Linked DNA regions of Homo sapiens: region 2 is linked to region 1. Evidence: promoter capture Hi-C in 16 types of primary human blood cells and fetal thymus (Javierre and others, 2016). All regions are on one chromosome and are shown on one strand. Each heading gives the region's core, a stretch centred on a gene start or on the middle of the fragment in contact. The rest is flanking DNA. Distances are from core to core; before and after follow the strand shown.

The links. The method cuts DNA at HindIII sites, captures the fragments that hold promoters and counts their contacts. A CHiCAGO score of 5 or more calls a contact.
Region 2: a contact is called between a fragment that was not itself captured here and the fragment with the promoter of GPD1 in region 1, in 1 of 17 cell types (endothelial precursors). The highest score is 5.2, in endothelial precursors.

Annotation. Positions count from the first base shown.
Region 1 is chr12:50,102,064-50,105,353 of GRCh38, reverse strand. It overlaps GPD1 (glycerol-3-phosphate dehydrogenase 1), which reads right to left and starts at 1,346. Exons shown (of 8, transcript NM_005276.4): 1 at 1,263-1,346; 2 at 603-780. The coding sequence starts at 1,303. RefSeq lists an enhancer at 2,287-2,336. The HindIII fragment of the contact is 4,893 bases long and covers 1-1,568 here.
Region 2 is chr12:50,433,225-50,436,258 of GRCh38, reverse strand. It overlaps LARP4 (La ribonucleoprotein 4), which reads right to left. Exons shown (of 16, transcript NM_052879.5): 5 at 635-771. Among named protein-coding and RNA genes, the nearest start is that of SNORD133, 22 kb to the left of the region's middle. The HindIII fragment of the contact is 3,407 bases long and covers 1-3,025 here.

The sequences.
Region 1 (3,290 bases), core at 97-2,596:
CCTCCAGCTGTCCTGGGCTCTTGAGGACTCCTGGAAACCTCATCCCAGCACTCTCCTATCCCTTGGCTGTGGGACAGTGCGGGAGGCCAAAAGCAGCCTGGGCTTGGCAAAAGAAAGAGCTCAAATAAGATTTCATCACCCAGCTCCTCAGGAACCCCAGCTGGGAAGGGGGAGCCCCAGCCTTTCTGCTCTCTTCCCTGCTTCCCCTTTCCAGGTGGGGAGAGCCACGTGGATTTGACCAAAGACCGTAAGTCCAAGGAGCAGCCTCCAAGTCGGCTACTCACTCAGTGAATGAGTAACAGGATTAGTGCCGGAGGCAGGCACTACTGGACCCCAAGTCTGGGAGCCCAGTCTTTGGCTGCCATGGAGACCAACTTGTTCTCCCATCCCTTCCCCACCCACCCGCCTGGGAGCCTGTGAGGGGAAAGCATAGGTTCTCCTCAGTCCTCAGGAAAGGGCCCAGAGCAGCCCTCCTGAGACCTTCCCAAGTCCTGCTGCACCTGAAGCGGCCCTCTCAGCAGGAGGCACCTGTTGAGTAAGGTCGGCTCCAACTCCTGGCCCTCCCTTCCTCTCCCTGTTCTTCGCAGGGTGTTGGGGCTCACCACATTTGGGGGCAACTTGTGCCCTGGCAGGTATTTGACATTCTCATGCTGCGTGTTGATGATCTCAGTCAGCTTTTTGCCTCCAATGTCTTCCTCAAATACCCACATGGTCACCCGTGGGTCAAACTGTGCCAGCTGGGCTGCATTGCCACCCACGATCTTGGCGATGGCTGAGCCCCTGGTGGGAGGGGGAGCACAGGAAAGTACAGGAGGAGGGAACAGTGGCAGGAGTTGGGGCAGCGCCCCACCTCAGGATCTCACAGCAGCCCCCCAGGCTGTTCACTCCTACCTACCTTCCTTATCACCTCCACTCCCATGACAAATAGTCCCCAGTGACCTGGCAGTAGAAAGGAGACTCAGTCTCCTCACCCTTTGCTACTAGAGAAGGGAGCCCCACTTCTCATCTTCCCACCCCCAAACTCAAGCGGCTCTTCACATAGAGAGCTCTGGAGACGCCTTCCCATGGTGAACAGGTGCAGCTGCCCAGGAGGGCGGGGGTCAGGAGAGGGCCGGGCACCGTCTGTCCTGTGCTGCTATGATAGAAGATAGCAGCAGGGGCTGAACAGGAACCTGAGGGCCTTTCCCACCCATTCTGCCTCCTACCCACCTCTGTCTTGGGGGGCCTACCCTTCCCCCATATCACTTGACAGAGCTGCTTACCAGTTCCCGGAGCCTACAATGCAGACTTTCTTGCTAGCCATGGTGCCGCGTCTCTGCCTGAGCCGGCTCAGTGCCACACTCCCTAGCTCCTCTGCCGGCTAGGAGCATTTAACTCCACCACACGTGGGTGCAGCCAAGCCCCGCCCTCCAGGGGTGGGTGGGGAGGCTGGCGCCCAGGGAGATAGAGAGTCTGGCAGAGCCAGGGAAAGGAGAGACAGGGGTACAGACAGGTGTGGAACAGGAATGGGGCAGAGACTAGGCCCAGCTTTTTCTCCTGGGCTCATCGGCTGACAGTGCTGGCAAGCTTCTTCCCTTGGCCCCAGCCCAGCTTCCCACCATGGTCTCATTTTGAGGTCTGCTAAGAAAATAGCCCAGATAAGGAGCAGGTGACTGCTCTCCCTTGCTCCTTTCTGTCCCCCAGCATGAAATAAATTGTATTTAGCTTCAGTAGCAGCTAGGGGAATGCTTTTCAGAGGTAGGCTCCTCCATGACCCCCTATCCCCCCGCCAACCCTGCCACATATCCTCACAGGACCCTGTTCCACAGTTCTGTCCTCCAGCAGGCCCACGCTAGCTCCACTGCAGGGCTGGGGTGGGGGATGTGGGCCCACTTCCCACCTCTAAAGATGAGGCCACATAAGAGGTAAGGGCCTGCTTTGAGGACAGCCCAGCTCAAAAAAGGATGAGAGACTCCAGGTGCCTCAAAAGACAAGATTGTCTTGGTCACCCACAGAGGTCATCTTGGGGACTCATCCATGGGCCTCTCAGATGATCCCCACCCAAAAATGTGTTCTAGGGAAGGTGGGAAAGGTTAAAGTTAGAGAGCTCTGAGAATTGCGGTACACAATTTTGTTGTAGACTCTGGGCTTAAGAGGACAGGAGAGAATAGGAGGCAGGCAGAGTGCACACTGTCCTTGAAAGGCTTTGAGCCTCCTTCAACTCCTCCTCTCAGGGGTTTCCAAGGTACTGCCCCAGGGGCTTCATCAGGTGAATGGCTAGTTTGCAGAGGCCAGAAAAGGGGAAGGCAGGCAGTACCCGGGGCAGCTGTGTCCGTGGGGCTTTGTGGTCTCAGATGCTGTGATTGGGGGTAAGTTTGGTGTATGTTTTTTGGGGAAGGGCGAGAATGGAAGGAGCACCCTCAGCAGTTCAGGGCTCTGCATCGCCCACGGCCATCTGTTTGTCTAAGACGAGGGAAGCTCTGGTTTCCAGGCTGATCTGGAGAGTGGAGCAAGAGGCTCCTAACACTGTGCACCTTGGCCTAGAGGGCAGACACCACTGTGTGCTCATGTGCTGACCTCCTGGCTTGGCAGACGGCTAGGTGGGTGTTGCCATCCCCCTGGGCTGTTGCTGGCCAGCAACTGGTAACAAGCACTGGGCTACAGGGGAGTCTGTGTGCAACCCATGGGTAGGAGTAAGCAGGCAGGAGGTCAAGACTGGGGAGAAATGGCTTTCTAAGTTCCGGGGACTGCCCAGGAAAAACCAACCATATTCTCCTTCCATGGCCAGTAATTTCCCATAGGGAAACGGACATGAAATCAGTAGTTGGCTGTTTTTCTTAGCACAATGTTATACCTAATACAGAAACAGCCTCCCACAGACCACTCCTTTATTGCACTGGCACTGAGATGAAGGCTCCAGTGCCAGGCTGCCAGCTGGGAGCACTGATTACGGGTGATGGAAGAGAAAGGATGCTTCTGTCCCTGGCACAAATGATGGGAGCCCCAAAGAATGGATGTTTATGCATAAAATAACCCCCTTGTTTTTGCCTAAATGCTTCCCTCTCTCATTTTGCCCCTACAATCATTTTAGATAGTGTGGAGACTAAGAATGTGCTCATTTACATGGGAATAAAGAGGGTGCAGAGATTCAGAATCGGCTCATCACAGGAAGTTATCTGTATCACTAGAGCTCTTTTCCCAAGAGCAAACTGTAGATTTGCTTGAAATTAATAATGGTTCATCAGCCATTCATTACACATGTAATTAGCCTGGGTAAAAACAGATGCCATTTCAATGTCCTTGACATCAAT
Region 2 (3,034 bases), core at 73-2,572, 330 kb before region 1:
TATATATATATACATACACACATATACACACACACACACCCCCACACACCAGTCAGTAGCGGGATATATATATATATATATATACATACACACACACACACACCCCAGCGGGATATATACACACACACACACACATATCACACACACACACACACACCAGCGGGATACACACACACACACACACACACACACACACACACACACACAGAGTCAGTAAAAATGGGAAGCCAAGGTGGGAGGACTGACTCAGCCAAAGAACAAAGACCAGCCTGGGGAACATACCAAGACCCCACCTCTATACAAAAATTTAAAGATTAGCCAGATGTGGTGGTGTGCGCCTGGGGTCCCAGTAACTTGGGAGGCTACGAGGTAGAAGGATGGCTTGAGCCCAGGAGTTTGGGGCTGCAGTGAGCTGTGATTTGCACCATCACACTCCCGCTTGAGTGACAGAGTGAGACCCTGTCTTTCACCACAACCCCCGAAAAAAAAAAACAAAGAGAGAGAATTCGGAACAAAACAACAAAATAAGGGTGTGGGGAGGGGGCAGTAAAAATAATTCCCTATATGATCAGAAGTCGAAATAACATTTTACGTTTAAAAATTAAAAAAAAAGCTAAAAGGTATTTTTACATACATCTTAACACTTCAAGAATTAGATCAGGGTCTGTAGTCAACTTTTTTATTTCTTCCATGTTGGCAACTGTCCAAATTGGGATGAACTGATCACTATCCATTTGAGATATCAAGTAAAGATCCTTTGACAAATTTTCTCTGAAAAAACAAAATAGTCCTATAAAACAAGCAATTATTAAAAAGCATCTAACAAGAGGTATCTTACTCACTTTTCCTACTTTTTAAATGCATGGAAATAAGATTATTCTATCAGAAATAACATTAAACTTTTCAGTGAACTCTAAAAAGTTGTTAAAAGTTCAATTCAAAAGATACTAATGTAATATATACATAAACATTAGTTAATATAACTTTTACAGTATCTCAATTCCCAAACACATCTAGCACAACATTGGACAATTATACTGATACATAAAGAGGTTTAATATTACAAGTAGCACTTTAACAAAACATTACATATAGCAGAGTTCCATCTTATAAATACTTCATCAGTGATATTAGAATATGCATGATAAAAACTGTAGCTGAACTGTGAACTGACTCAAGAAGGATTTTCCATTTCTGTTTCTTTTTTTCCTGAGACAGAGTCTTGCTCTGTTGCCCAGTCTGGAGCGCAGTGGCGCAAACTCGACTCACTGCAAGCTCTGCCTTCCGGGTTCAAGTAATTCTCCTGCCTCAGCCTCCCGAGTAGCTGGGACTACAGGCGCCCGCCATCACGCTCGGCTAATTTTTTTTTGTATTTTTTAGTACAGACGGGGTTTCACCGTGTTAGCCAGGATGGTCTCGATCTCCTGACCTCGTGATCCATCCGCCTCAGCCTCCCAAAGTGCTGGGATTACAGGCGTGAGCCAGCGCACCCTGTCCAAAATACGTGTTTTAAATTATTTAAGTCAAACATGCTTATATAAATACACACATTGGCTGGGTGCGGTGGCTCATGCCTGTAATCCTAGCACTTTGGGACGCCGAGGCGGGTGGATCATTAGAGGTCAAGAGCTCAAGACCAACCTGGCCAACATGGTGAAACCCCGTCTCTACTAAAAATACAAAAAATTAGCCAGGCTTGGTGGTGGGTGCTACTCGGGGTGCTGAGGCAAGAGAATCGCTTGAACCTGGGAGGCGGAGATTGCAATGAGCCGAGATCACGCCACTGCACTCCAGTTGGGGCAACAAGGGCGAAACTCCATCTCAAAACATAAACAAAAAAAAAAAAAGAAAAATAAAAAATATATATTTAATATTAACACAAAAGATTCTTTAAGGTACATTAAAAAAAGAAGATGCAAACACTTGCATCTTACACATAAAATCTTGTTTAATAAACTTAGGTAAAATCAAATTCACACCTTGCTATTCACATCAAATATTCTTTGAAGCAGTCTGGCTATAAATAGCTGGAAGTTTTTGCTTATAAGGCCCCTTCTCAAAGAGTACTGTTCTGATCACCCTATTTAAAACTGCAACCACCCCAGCATTCCTGATTCCTGTCCTTGCATTTAATTTTTTTCCCATAGCACTTATCTCCTAACATACTCCTTATTTATTATGTTTGTTTTGTGTTCTCACAGTCAGAATATAGGTTCCATGAAGGATCGCTGCTGTTCAATCAATAATGTATTTCAACTGCCTAGTGCCTGGCAAGGAGCAGGCTCAAAGGCCCTTACTTTTACATTCTATTAAAATAGAGGCCAGGCATGGTGGCTCACACCTGTAAACCCAGCACTTTGGGAGGCAAAGGTGGGTGGATCACCTGATATCAGGAGTTTGAGATTAGCCTAGCCAACATGATAAAACCTCGTCTCTACTAAAAACACAAAACTTAGCCAGGCACGGTTGTGCGTGCCCGTACTCCCAGCTACTTGGGAGGCTGAATCAGAAGAATCGCTTGAACCCGGGAGGTAGAGGTTGCAGTGAGCCGAGATCGTGCCACTGCACTCCAGCCTACGCAATAGAGTGAGAACTCCATCTCAAAAAAAAAAAAAAAAGATATTCCTTAAGAATCTGAAAATAAGACAACTATAAACATAATTTTTGCAAAACTAAAAAGCTGTAGCCTAAATGAACTCTGAAATTTAGCAGGTCTATTCTTAAACAGTGATTCAACTCTTAGCTAAAGAAACTGTACCTTGTCAGAAGTAAATCAAATTAATGGATATAACATCTAAGATTTGATTATTCATGAGTAATACCTGATATGTATTAATGGCAATTTTGCTGAGCTACAAATGTCAATTACCCAGCTGGTTCGAACTATATCACAGTCCTGAGTAGGATGTGATGGATCATGACAAGTAGGAGCTTCCACTGCAACAACTAAAAAAGCTGGGATAAACTACAAAAAAAAAAAAAAAAAAAATCACGTTTTTGGAGATCTGGGAAAGCTGTGGAAGCTTCAAGCACA